3 separate regions of the Homo sapiens genome follow, and all the other regions are linked to region 2. The links are contacts of gene promoters, found by promoter capture Hi-C in blood cells and fetal thymus (Javierre and others, 2016). All regions are on one chromosome and are shown on one strand. Each heading gives the region's core, a stretch centred on a gene start or on the middle of the fragment in contact. The rest is flanking DNA. Distances are from core to core; before and after follow the strand shown. Region 1 holds the start of PDAP1 (PDGFA associated protein 1). Region 2 holds the start of ZSCAN21 (zinc finger and SCAN domain containing 21). Region 3 overlaps ZKSCAN5 (zinc finger with KRAB and SCAN domains 5).

Region 1 (3,960 bases), core at 600-3,099, 640 kb before region 2:
TCAGCCAGAGTTGCTCTGCACTCCAGAGGCGGTAGCAGAGATACTGGCCTCCTCTGATTCCTTACAGCAGCTGCAAAGCCATAATTGGGCTGCTAAAGATCACACCACCCATTTTTAATGACTACCTAGGTTCCCAGGGGTGTCTAAGTCTATGCTTATTAAAGTCCTATTGTGAGAGAGCAAGTGTGCCAAGAAAAAAACCAACACCCTTTCTTGCTCTCTTAATACACCAGGCAACAGTAACAACTCAAAATTGATTACTATAGGCTCTCCTCTCATGCACTTGGCTATGGGACCCTGACCTTAGCTTGGTCCACAGTAATTTTATAGTAGACTCTTCAAGACTTTAAAAAACGATTTGCACTTAACATAATGGAAACAAGCGTTGGTCCTTTGCTCTTAGGGAGTTTGATACTTTTAACACCTTCACGGTTTTTTGTGGTTTTCAGATTAACCCAAGAAAATGTAAACCTTGTCTACCCCAAAAAGCTTTTCACAAGCCCAAAGACCATTTAGCTATGAATTCATATTTAAGGTTTTATCGTTGTAACCTCCAACCTTTACCCAAAGTATCCATTAAGTAAAACTTCGGAGGGAGGATGGCTCATTCAGCAACCTCCTTTTACAGATGAAGGGACTGGGGAACAATAGCAGAGAGACTTTTCCAGCCACAGAATAAATCAGTAGAGAGCTAGGTTTAAACACATTTAGCTCTGTAATGCCCAATTATCTCTGGAGTCAGGAAGCGATTTAGGTTTGAAAACGCTACAGGCAGATGTTTCTGTGGGTTGAGTGCATTAACCAATATAACACATGAGCTACCAACACAAATATATTTGTTCTGTGCCAGGAGGTGGCCAGGCACTTTATGAGCGCTATAATTTTACCACCCCGGCCCCAATTCAACAAGCTAAGGATTAGCCCAGTGTTTCAGATGAGGAAGAGGTTAACTTGTTCAGGGCCACAGAATTAGACGTGACATAGCTGGGATTCAAACTGGGGACTATCGATTCTAAAGGGGGAAACAGGATAGAGAACGGGCTAGAAGATAGAGGACGGGCTACAATGGACTGGGCAGTCATGAACCTACTTACAAGATCAAGAGCTGGCAAAGCCTTAAAAATAAGAATAGTTACTGCTTCACTGGGCACTTTTAACGACTGCCTGGCACTGTACTGCGCACTCCACGTGGATTACCTAGTTGAAGCCTCCCAACAGTACTAAGAGGTAGGTACAATCGTTATTCCCATTGGCAAATGAGAAAACGGAGACACAGGAGGTGGAGCGACTGGCTCAAAGGAACACACCGAGCCGCTACCGAACGGGGGAGTCGAAACCAGGTCTGGAAGGCTCATGGGCATCTCCTTAAGTCCTCCTAGGCAGGCCTGGCTGAACCGAAGCCAGAAAAAGCCCACGTTTTACGCGAGAGGCAGGCGGGCCCGGCACAAGCGCGGGACGCGGTGACTCAGTTCCTAGCCAGCCAAAGAGTGGGATAAATTCCAGAACCCCTAGACCCGGAGAAGCGCATCCTAGATCCGGCTTTCTAGGCCGGCGAGGACCCAGAGCTTCCGAAACTCCTCAGACCACTGACGGAGTGACTCTGGGACACCACAGTCCTCAGTTTCCCCATCGGGACAATTGGGCGTCGAGGCCCAGGCCTGGCTCTCAGCCGGTGCGGACAGCCTCCCTCTGCGCTGCTCTCAGAGACGCGCACGGGCTGAGGGGACAGCGGAAGCCGGACCTGGGCCGCCCCTCCAGGCCTGCGGGCCACCGGCGCCCGCCCCTCACCTCCTTTAGGCATTGCGGCTCCGGCGGCTGCGGCGGCGGCGGCGGCGCCTCGAACTGACACCGGAACCGGAAATAGCTTGGGCTCGACTTCTTCCTCCTGGGCCAGCCGCCGCCGCCGCTTCAGTGGCCGCAGTGGCCGCAAGGACCCGGACCTCAGGGAGGCCTCCGCACGAAGTCGGACCGTCCTGCGCGCCGCCTAAGTCCAGGCTTGCCCGTCTGCTGCCAGGCAACAACGCCCCTAGTCTCTCCGTTCGGGAAGACGCGTGGCCCTGCCTGCCACCCACCGGAAGTGAGGGCAAATGGCAACAGCGGCTCTGGAATTCTATACAGGCATTGCTGAGGACACCTAAGATGACGCAATCTCCGCGCGGGTAGGGCGGGGCTCCGCAAGGACCTCATGCCTTAGAGATCGCCTGAAGAGCGGAAGCCTTCTGTCGAGAAGCAGCTACCCAAGCTCCAGGAGCTTCCGGTATGTGTTTTCCCTCTGTTCTCGATTACCTTGGCAACGGCTGAGGCGGGAGACCGGTGGTCTGCACCGTCCTGGAGGGAGATATGAGTGGCTGGACTCTCAGCCAGCCACTGGGATGTGTTCGGGCTTTGGACCTTGAGGCCGGAGAGAGCTCCCGAGAGGAGGCGGCGCCACGTTCGTTCTTCTGAGGGGACGGTAGATTTGGGGGTTTTCCTCTAGGATTCTCGCGCCGTTTCCTCTGGTAGGAACGTCTTCTGTGTTCTGATTGTTTTTCTAAGCTGGGTTCAGATGCTGTCCTTTTTATGAGTTTTCCCTACAATCCTGCACTATCTTCCTTCGCTCCTCCTCGCCTCCTTCCCCTAGCGCCCCAATCTCTCTTACACCTCCCGGCACATCTTTCTTCTCGATCTGATTACCTCCTACGTCCTCTTTCTCCTCGATCTGGTTACCGCCTACCATTTTCACCTCCGAGAGGCCTCTTCTGACTTCCAGGCTGGATCAGGGCCCTCGAATTTCCCTGGGTCGTAGAAAAGCGATCATTCTCTTGTCACAGACTATGCGCCTTGGGGCCGAGACCAGAATTCACCTATTTTTAGCTTCAGCGTAGGGGAGACTAGTGCGAAGACCACTGATTTGGGAGTCAGGAGCCCTCCAGAGTCAGGTTTTGCAAATTCTCAGCTGTGTGACCCTGATTCTACCTTATAGAGTTTGATTCCTCCTCTATATGGTTGTTTTAGAGAGTTCATGAGAGGAGGCTCTGTGGGCGGGGGGGGGGTGGGTCTTTGTAAAGTGTCAGTACAGAAGGGAGTGACTGAATGAATTTGAGAGAGATGAATCTGTTATGCTGAAAGGTAAATACTTAACCTGGGTTCTCTCTGGCAGCAAGGAAATGCTGTGTGGTTTGAAAAACGCTTTGCTATTTAGATTGGGATCGGCCTCTTGTATGGGAACTACCTGACTTTATGTAATATGTTGTTTGGTGTGAAAGAGACCTTGGCAATCAGCCAATCCACTGCCCTCATTTTACAGAAGAAACAGGACCAGAGAGGGAAGGTGACCTGAAAGTCACAGAATAATTTTTTAGAGCTGAACAAGAATCCAAGCCTGCAACTGCAGAGACGAGAGATCTTTCTGCTGTCTATACTCTTGGAAAGCACATCCTAAGGTACTTTGATTTTACAGTCATCTTTCCCTTTTTATTTTATGTTTTGTTTTGTTTTGTTTGTTATTGAGACATGGTCTCACTCCGTCACTTAGGCTGGAGTGCAGTAGTGTGAACATGGCTAACTGAAGACTTTCAACCTCCTGGGCTCAAGTGATCCTCTTGCCTCAGCCTTCCGTGTAGCTCAGACCACAGGCACCCACCACCATGCTCAGTTAATTTTTTTGATTTTTTTTTTTTTTTGGTAGAGATAGGGTTTCACCTCATTGCTCAGACTGGTCTCAAATTCCTGGGCTCAAGTGATCCTCCCATCTCAGCCTCCCAAGGTGCTGGCCAAGACCAGAATTACAGGCATGAGCCACCGTGCCTGACCTTCCATCTTTGCCTTTTTAAATACTCACCCCCATGGCTCCCCGAGTCACAGCCCTCCTTATACTCTATTGTAATTGCTTTTTCTCTTGTCTGTCTCTTTGCTAAAATGTCACCTTCTAAGGGGCAAAGGCTTAACTTTTGTTCTGTGTTCCCAACATCCAGTATAGGG
Region 2 (3,685 bases), core at 779-3,278:
ATATTGGTGTTCCTCAACACATGTGAGTTTTGCAGGACCAGACAAAAGCAAACTCACAGGGGGCCCGATGGAGTAGTGCTGAGGTGGAAAATACAGACTCTTCAGTCTGGAAACCTGCAGCTGAGCCAGAGCAGCAGGAGGAAAAGGCAGGCAAAGACATCTTCATCGAGTCCTGCAGCATTGGAAGGAGTTCAGCCCCTAGGTCTTCTGCTCAGGAAGTTTAGGACCCACAGAAGGGCAAGGCTACTTCTGATTGATGTCACCATGACCCTGGTCTGCAAAGTTGAGGACTAAACTCTGACTGTTTTCTTCTTTTGCCCAAATTACTATCTAAGGGGCCTGGAGAGTCACCCCCTTCAAACCATAAAGCCTCATCAGACAGGTTTTATTTAACTTTATATAACCTGGCTGACTTTTCAACCAGGCTCTGGCATAACATCACATGGCAGATAAAGAAGGAAACGAAAATATTTCCACCCCAAATATGTTTTTTTGCCATATCTTGAAATAACCCTACCAAGCTGTCTTCTCGTGGGGAAAATCTACACTTGGTAGAGAATCCCCTTCCCTTTCCAGGCCTTTTTCCTGATCCAGGAGAGAATCAACTGGGCGTCTGGCACTTTTTAAAGTCTGATAAGAAATATTTGCAGTCTGTTCTTTCTGAAGCCGGCTGCCTGGAGGCTCCATCTGCATAATGGGAACCCTGGTCTCCACAACCCCTTAGTTCAGCGGTCCCCAACCTTTTTTGGCACCAGGAACCAGTTTTGTGGAAGACAGTTTTTTCCATGGATGGCAGGAGGGGGATGGATGGTTTCGTGGTTTCAGGATGATTCAAGCACATTACATTTATTGTGTACTTTATTTCTATTATTATTACATTGTAATATATCATGAAATAATTGTACAACTCATCATAACATAGAATTAGTGGGAGCCCTGAGTTTGTTTTCCTGTAATTAGAGGGTTCCATTGGGGAATTATGGGAGACAGCGACAGATCATCAGGTATTAGATTCTCATAAAGAGTGCACAACCTAGATCCCTCGCATGCACTGTCCACAATAGGGTTTGTGCTCCTGTAAGAATCTAATGCTATGGCTGATCTGACAGGAGGCGGAGCTCAGGCAGTAATTAGAGCAATGGGGAGTGGCTGTAGATACAGGTGAAGCTTTGCTCCTGCAGCTCACCTCCTGCAGTAACGGCCCAGTTCCTAACAGGCCATGGACTGGTATCTGTCTGTGCCCCAAGGGTTGGGGACCCCTGCCTTAGTCATCCCAGACATTCCTTTCTATTGATTATAGGTCTTTAGACAATAACTTTCAGCCAGTTGCCCATTAGAAGATCCTTGAGTTCACCTATGACTTGGAACATCCCCGCTTGGAATTGTCCTGCCTTTCCCACAGAACCAATGTTCATCTTACATGTCTTGATTGGTGTCTTATGTCTCCCTAAATTGTATAAACCCAAGCTGTAGCCCGACCATCATAGGTACATGTTCTTAGGACCTCTTGAGACTGTACCTTGGGCCATTGGTCACTCATATTTGTCTCAAAATAAATGTCTTCAAATATTTTACAGTTTGATTGTTTTCATCAACGAAGTATTAACTCAATCTCTGGCTTCACGGGCCAAGCACAGCGTTCCATGTCCATAAACCTGGACCGAGGAGCTGGGCCCAAGGGTATCCAGTGACCTCGATCCAGGTTTATGGACAAGGAACCCTGTGCTTATCCCAAGGGTACTCAGGGACCTTGGGCTCTGAAGTCCACGAGGGTGACCGAGGTGGCTGCCTCAGCCCATGCCCTCCCTGCCCCAGGGCGTCGGGGTTGGGTGAGAGAACCGCCGCAGCCTTCATCTGGTCTGACCGTCTTCGGTAAAAACAGAAAGAGTCCCTGGCTTTTCATTTTCGGGGTGGACTCAACTCCTCCCTGATGTCCCAAGGGCCAGAGACACAGAGAGGACCTCCCGAATTTCTAGAGGGGCCGCTACGGCCCCGCACTACTTTTCCGCGGGGGCGGGGCTATGACGCACTTCCGGGTGCGCGGTCCCGAGGTACGCGGTGCGGTCTCCCGGTACCCGGAGCGGCTCTGATTCATGGTGAGCCTGCTGGTCGCGGGTTAGCGAGGCGGACAGGAGAGGGAGCCGTGGCTGAATGGTCTGGGGAGGGAGGAGTGGGTTTAGCAGCTGTGGCTTCCGAGGACCCCACCTAGACCGGTCCTAGCAGGGCTGTGGGGAGGAGCTCCTCGTCCCCGCCCAGGACCAGCTGGTGGGGGCGCTGGCTGCCTGGAAAGCCTTTTCTTCCACTTGGGGCTTTAACAAATGAAAGCTGGAAGAACAGATGTTTTGGAAGTTCTTTCGCGTTCCAGAATAGTTTTTTTTGTGCGTTCCCCAAGCCAAGCCGTCTATCAGTCTGACCGTGGCCGCCTTTTTTCCCTTTCTCTGAACTGGAGGTCCGAACGCAAGGCTCATTGATGGCAATACGCCCAAGGTGTTGGAAACCTGTGGGAAGCCGAACCTCATTAGAAGTGTTGGGTAGAATCAAATCCAAGGGAAGAAATAGTCCCCTCGGGCTTTGTTCGGGCTAGAACACACACACAGAATAGGGATCTGCTCATGGTTTAGAAAAACAGTCTTAAAGAACCATGTATAAATAAAAGAGTGTCAGGACAAAGTTGATTTGGGCCAGGCGCGGTGGCTCACGCCTGTAATCCCAGCAGTTCGGGAGGCCGAGGCCGGCGGATCACTTGAGGTCAGGAGTTCGAGACCAGCCTGGCCAAACCCTGTCCCCACGAAAAATACAAAAATTAGCTGGGTGTGGTGGAGCGCGCCTGTAATCCCAGCTACTCAGGAGGCTGAGGCAGGAGAATCGCTTGAACCCACCAGGTGGAGGTTGCACTGAACCGAGATCACGCCACTGCACTCCAGCCTGGGCGACAGAGCAACACTTGGTCTCACAAAAAAAAAGAACGTTGATTTGATGGGTGAGGTACTTGGAAACCCACGAAATCTAAGGAACAGTTGAGCTGTGGAGAGGAAAAGAATTAAGAGGCAAGATAATTGTTTTCAAGTGTTGGAAGGCTGCTATGGAGAAAGTGAGTATTGGTCTTGGACTAACCTAGGATTTTTGAAATGATGCGGAATTTGATTCAGGTTAAAGAATTTGTGTGGCCGGGCGCGGTGGCTCATGCCTGTAATCCAGCACTTTGGGAGGCCGAGGCGAGTGCATCACCTGAGGTCGGGAGTTCGAGACCAGCCTGACCAACATGGAGAAACCCCGTCTCTACTACAAATACAAAATTAGGCGGGCGTGGTGGCACATGCCTGTAAGGAGGCTGAGGCAGGAGAATCGCTTGAACCTGGGAGGCAGAGGTTGCGGTGAGCCGAGATCGCGCCATTGCACTCCAGCCTGGGAAACAAGAGTGAAACTACGTCTCAAAAAAAAAAAAAAAAAAAAAAAAAGGAAGAACTTGTAACAATTAGTGGAATTCTGTGGCTCAAGAATTATCTAATTTGGCTGCCTAGGGATCTAGGGATTTTCTTTTTTTTTTTTTTTTTTTTTTTTTTTTTGAGATGGAGTCTCGCTCTGTCGCCTAGGTTGGAATGCAGTGGCGCGATCTCGGCTCACTGCAAGCTCCGCCTCCCGGGTTCTAGCCATTCTCCTGCCTCAGCCTCCCAAGTAGCTGGGA
Region 3 (4,136 bases), core at 514-3,013, 530 kb before region 2:
CATAGACTGTATTCACCATTTTCATCAACTTCTGTTTTCAGTCTTTAGCCACTCCCGGTTTCAGATCCCTTCTCTGCTTTTGGCTTTCATCTGTAACCATTGTCCCGTCCTTTTTGTGTCATTGCTCCTTATTTCCTAGTCATTGGAAATCAGCAAGCCACGGATGCCCCCAGATCTCCAGGACTCCAGATCTAAATACCAACAGGGTCTAAACTATCCGGTTACAGCTTAATCCCAGGCAGGTCTGTGCAAGTCAAGGCACATGTGGATGGTGAGATCCAGACATGCTGTGGACCTTAGACAAAGAGCAAGCAGAGGTGACCTCGGGGTCAGGTGGTCCCTAGCTTCCAGAGGTGAGATGTCCGGGTGTTGCGCATGCTGTTCCTGCTGTGGGGAAAGCACCCTGTCTCCCCGATCTCCATTCCTACTGCCCAGAGTCACTTTCTGGGAAAAGGCTTTGCTGCTGCTGCTGCGTCTCCTGCTCCACTCTGTAAGTGCTCCTGCCTCTATGGTCCCACGGGAACTTGGGTCACCTTTCGTCATGGCACTCTTCACGCTGTGCTGTAAGGCTTACCTGTGTGCCCTTCCCATTAGACCAAGGGGTGTCCAATCTTTTGGCTTTCCTGGGCCACACTGGAAGAAGAATTGTCTTGTGCCACACATAAAATACACAAACACTAACCATAGCTGATGAGCTTAAACAAAATAAAAATTGCAAAAAAACCCCTCATGTTTATTTCTTTGAGATGGAGTTTTGCTCTTGTTACCCAGGCTGGAGTGCAATGGCGTGATCTCAGTTCAGCGCAACCTCTGCCTCCCAGGTTCAAGCGATTCTTCTGCTTCAGTCTCCCAAGTAGCTGGGATTATAGGCATGTGCCACACACTCAGCTAATTTTGTATTTTTAGTAGAGATGGGGTTTCTCCACGTTGGTCAGGCTGGTCTTGTACTCCCAGCCTCGGGTGATCCACCCTCATCAGCCTCCCAAAGTGCTGGGATTACAGGCGTGAGCCACTGTGCCTGGCCCTTCATAATGTTTTAAGAAACTTTACAAATTTGTGGGCCAGGCATGGTGGCTCACACCTGTAATCCCAGCACTTTAGGAGGCCGAACCAGGTGGATCAGTTGAGACCAGGAGTTCAAGACCAGCCTGGCCAACATGGCGAAATCCCGTCTCTACTAAAAATACAAAAATTAGTCAGGCATGGTGGCACATGCCTGTAATCCCAGCTACTCAGGAAGCTGAGGCAGGAGACTCTCTTGAACCTGGGAGGCGGAGGTTGCAGTTGGCCAAGATTGTATCACTACACTTCAGCCTGGGCAACAGAGCGAGACTCCATCTCAAAAAAACAAAACAAAATTAGCCGGGTGTGGTGGTGGGCGCCTGTAATCCCAGCTACTTGGGAGGCTGAGGCAGGAGAATCACTTGAACCTGGGAGGCGGAGGTTGCAGTGAGCTGAGATTGCACCACTGTACTCCAGCCTGGGTGACAGAGTGAGACCTTGTCTCAAAAAAAAAAAAAAGAAAGTTTACAAATTTGTGTTGGGGCACATTCAAAGCCATCCTGGGCCACGGGCCGTGGGTTGGGCAAGCTTGCATTAGACAGTACTTTTCCAAGGTAAGAATTGTTTTGTCTATTCCTGAGATGGGCAGAGAGAGAGAGAATAGATTTAATACATATTTCTTGACTGAATAGAAACTAACCATGGAAATTCTGGAAGGGATTTCTGAGGCTGTGGTAATCCAAGAGTGGTCCAGGAAGCCGTGGCACTGGCATTACCTGGGAGCTTATTAGAAGTGCAAACTAGGGGCCAGGCACAGTGGCTCACACCTGTAATCCCAGCACTTTGGGAGGCCATTGCAGGTGAATCACCGGAGTTTGAGACGATCCTGGACAACGTGGTGACACCCTGTCACTACTAAAACTACAAAAATTAGCCAAGCTTGGTGGTGCACACCTGTAATCCTAGCTACTCGGGAGGCTGAGGCAGGAGAATTGCTTGAACCCAGGAGGCGGAGGTTGCAGTGAGCTGAGATCGCGCCACTGCACTCTAGCCTGGGCCACAGAGCGAGACTCTGTCTCCAAAAAAAAAAATTTTTTTTAATTAAATTAAAAAATGAAAAAGAAATGCAAACTCTCAGGCCTCACCCCAGGCCTTTTGAGTCAGAATCTGCAAGTACCAAGATCCCCTAGGGGATGTAGGTGATTTATTTGTACATTAAAGCTCGAGCAGCCCTGGACTGTTAGGAATGCTTCAGTTTCATGGAAGATGTGGGAATTTGGTGGTTCTTTGAGATAATAAAATTTGATCTTGGCAAAGCAGAATGCATCCTTTTTTTTTTTTTTTTTTTTTTTGAGAGGGAGTCTTGCTCTGTCACCCAGGCTGGAGTGCAGTGGTGTGATCTCGGCTCATTGCAACCTCCGCCTCCTGGGTTCAAGTGATTCTCCTGCCTCAGTCTCCTGAGCAGCTGGGACTACAGGCGCCCGCCACCATGCCCAGCTAATTTTTGCATTTTTAGTAGAGATGAGGTTTCACCATATTGGCCAGGCTGGTCTCTAACTCCTGACCTTGTGATCTGCCTGCCTCGGCCTCCCAAAGTGCTAGGATTACAGGCGTGAGCCACCGTACCTGGCCCCCACCTTTTTTTTTTTTTTGAGACGGAGTCTTGCTCTGTCACCCAGGCTGGAGTGCAGTGGCACGATCTTGGCTCACTGTAACCTCCACCTCCCAGGTTCAAGCAATTCTCCTGCCTCAGCCTCTTGAGTAGCTGGGACTACAGGCACCTGCCACCACACCCGGCTAATTTTTGTATTTTTAGTAGAGGTGGGGTTTCACCATACAGGCCGGGCTGGTCTCGAACTGCTGACCTTGTGATCCTCCTGCCTCGGCCTCCCAAAGTACTAGGATTACAGGCGTGAGCCACCACGCCCAGTATTTTTTTTTTTTTTTTTTTTCTGAGACAGTGGCTGACTCTGTTGCCCAGGCTGGAGTGCAGTGGTGCAATCTTGGCTCATTGCAACTTCTGCATCCTAGGTTCAAGCGATTATCATGCCTTATCCTCTCAAGCAGCCAGGATTACAGGCGTGCATCACCACATCTGGCTGATTTTTGTATTTTTAGTAGAGATGGGATTTTGCCTTGTTGGCCAGGATGGCCTTGAATCCTGGCCTCAAGTGATCTGCCCCCCTTGACCTCCCAAAGTGCTGGTATTACAGGCGTGAGCCACTGTGCCTGGTCACAGAATGCATCCTTTATAGCGGAAAGGCAAGCAGGGATTAGCCTGACCAAAGTAGGAAGTCTAGGGTAAAGGAGGAATAAAACAGAGTGTGAGAGGATCCAGAAATTAGAGGGTCTTGACAGCCAGGCAGAAGAATTTGGCCTCGGCGCAGTAGGGGCCATTATGGATTCCTGAGCATAAGAGGAACATGATGGCAATGAGAACCGGGCAAAGATGTTCTCACTTAAACCTCTTTTTCTCCTCCCTTAGCCCTTCCTGTTCTCCAAGTTCCTTCCCTTCCCCTGAAGGACAGCCAGGAGCTGACAGCTTCACTTCTCTCAACTGGGTCCCAGGTGAGCTGGTGCCCCTTTGCCCTCAGAGAGGACCCATCCTGAACCTTCACCAAGAGTTCTGTTTCTTTAGCCAGTGACTAGGCCCATCTTGGGTTGGTACCTTCATTCCTTTGGCCTTTTTCCTTTCTGCCTAGTCCTTCCCCATCCTCTTTGAGGCACAGTTCCTCCCCCTGTTTCTTTTCTTAATGAGCCCAGTTCTTCCCCTCACTCCAAATTTGGACATAGGGAATGAGAATTTAGTGGAGATCTCCTGTTTCAGAAGTTGGTGAAAATTGAAGAGGTGGCTGATGTGGCTGTATCCTTCATCCTGGAGGAATGGGGGCATTTGGACCAGTCCCAGAAGTCCCTTTATAGGGATGACAGGAAGGAGAACTATGGGAGTATTACTTCCATGGGTAAGGATTATTTCATCTGCATGGATTAGGACATGTTTATTTTGTTATCTTGTAAAGAGTATTTCTGGCTCATCTTATAATGGCATTTATGTTTTATGTGCTATGACTTTGCTTTTTTTTATTTTTTGTAAAAGAATAAATCAGCCTTCATTTTTTTTTTCTTATTCAGTT

Evidence for each region. The method cuts DNA at HindIII sites, captures the fragments that hold promoters and counts their contacts. A CHiCAGO score of 5 or more calls a contact.
Region 1: the fragment with the promoter of PDAP1 here is called in contact with the fragment with the promoter of ZSCAN21 in region 2 in 1 of 17 cell types (M1 macrophages); the score reaches 5.4 in M1 macrophages.
Region 3: a fragment that was not itself captured here is called in contact with the fragment with the promoter of ZSCAN21 in region 2 in 1 of 17 cell types (M0 macrophages); the score reaches 5.1 in M0 macrophages.

The regions. Positions count from the first base shown.
Region 1 is chr7:99,406,748-99,410,707 of GRCh38, forward strand. It overlaps PDAP1 (PDGFA associated protein 1), which reads right to left and starts at 1,850. Exons shown (of 6, transcript NM_014891.7): 1 at 1,789-1,850. The coding sequence starts at 1,801. It overlaps BUD31 (BUD31 spliceosome associated protein), which reads left to right and starts at 2,222. Exons shown (of 6, transcript NM_003910.4): 1 at 2,222-2,498; 2 at 3,287-3,422. It overlaps MIR12119 (microRNA 12119), which reads left to right and starts at 2,425; the gene lies at 2,425-2,517. RefSeq lists a silencer at 1,619-1,678 and an enhancer at 1,889-2,278. The HindIII fragment of the contact is 3,476 bases long and covers 488-3,960 here.
Region 2 is chr7:100,047,746-100,051,430 of GRCh38, forward strand. It overlaps ZSCAN21 (zinc finger and SCAN domain containing 21), which reads left to right and starts at 2,029. Exons shown (of 4, transcript NM_145914.3): 1 at 2,029-2,096. RefSeq lists an enhancer at 1,931-2,550. The HindIII fragment of the contact is 10,625 bases long and covers 1,166-3,685 here.
Region 3 is chr7:99,516,340-99,520,475 of GRCh38, forward strand. It overlaps ZKSCAN5 (zinc finger with KRAB and SCAN domains 5), which reads left to right. Exons shown (of 7, transcript NM_145102.4): 4 at 3,488-3,570; 5 at 3,830-3,965. Among named protein-coding and RNA genes, the nearest start is that of ZKSCAN5, 14 kb to the left of the region's middle. The HindIII fragment of the contact is 351 bases long and covers 1,589-1,939 here.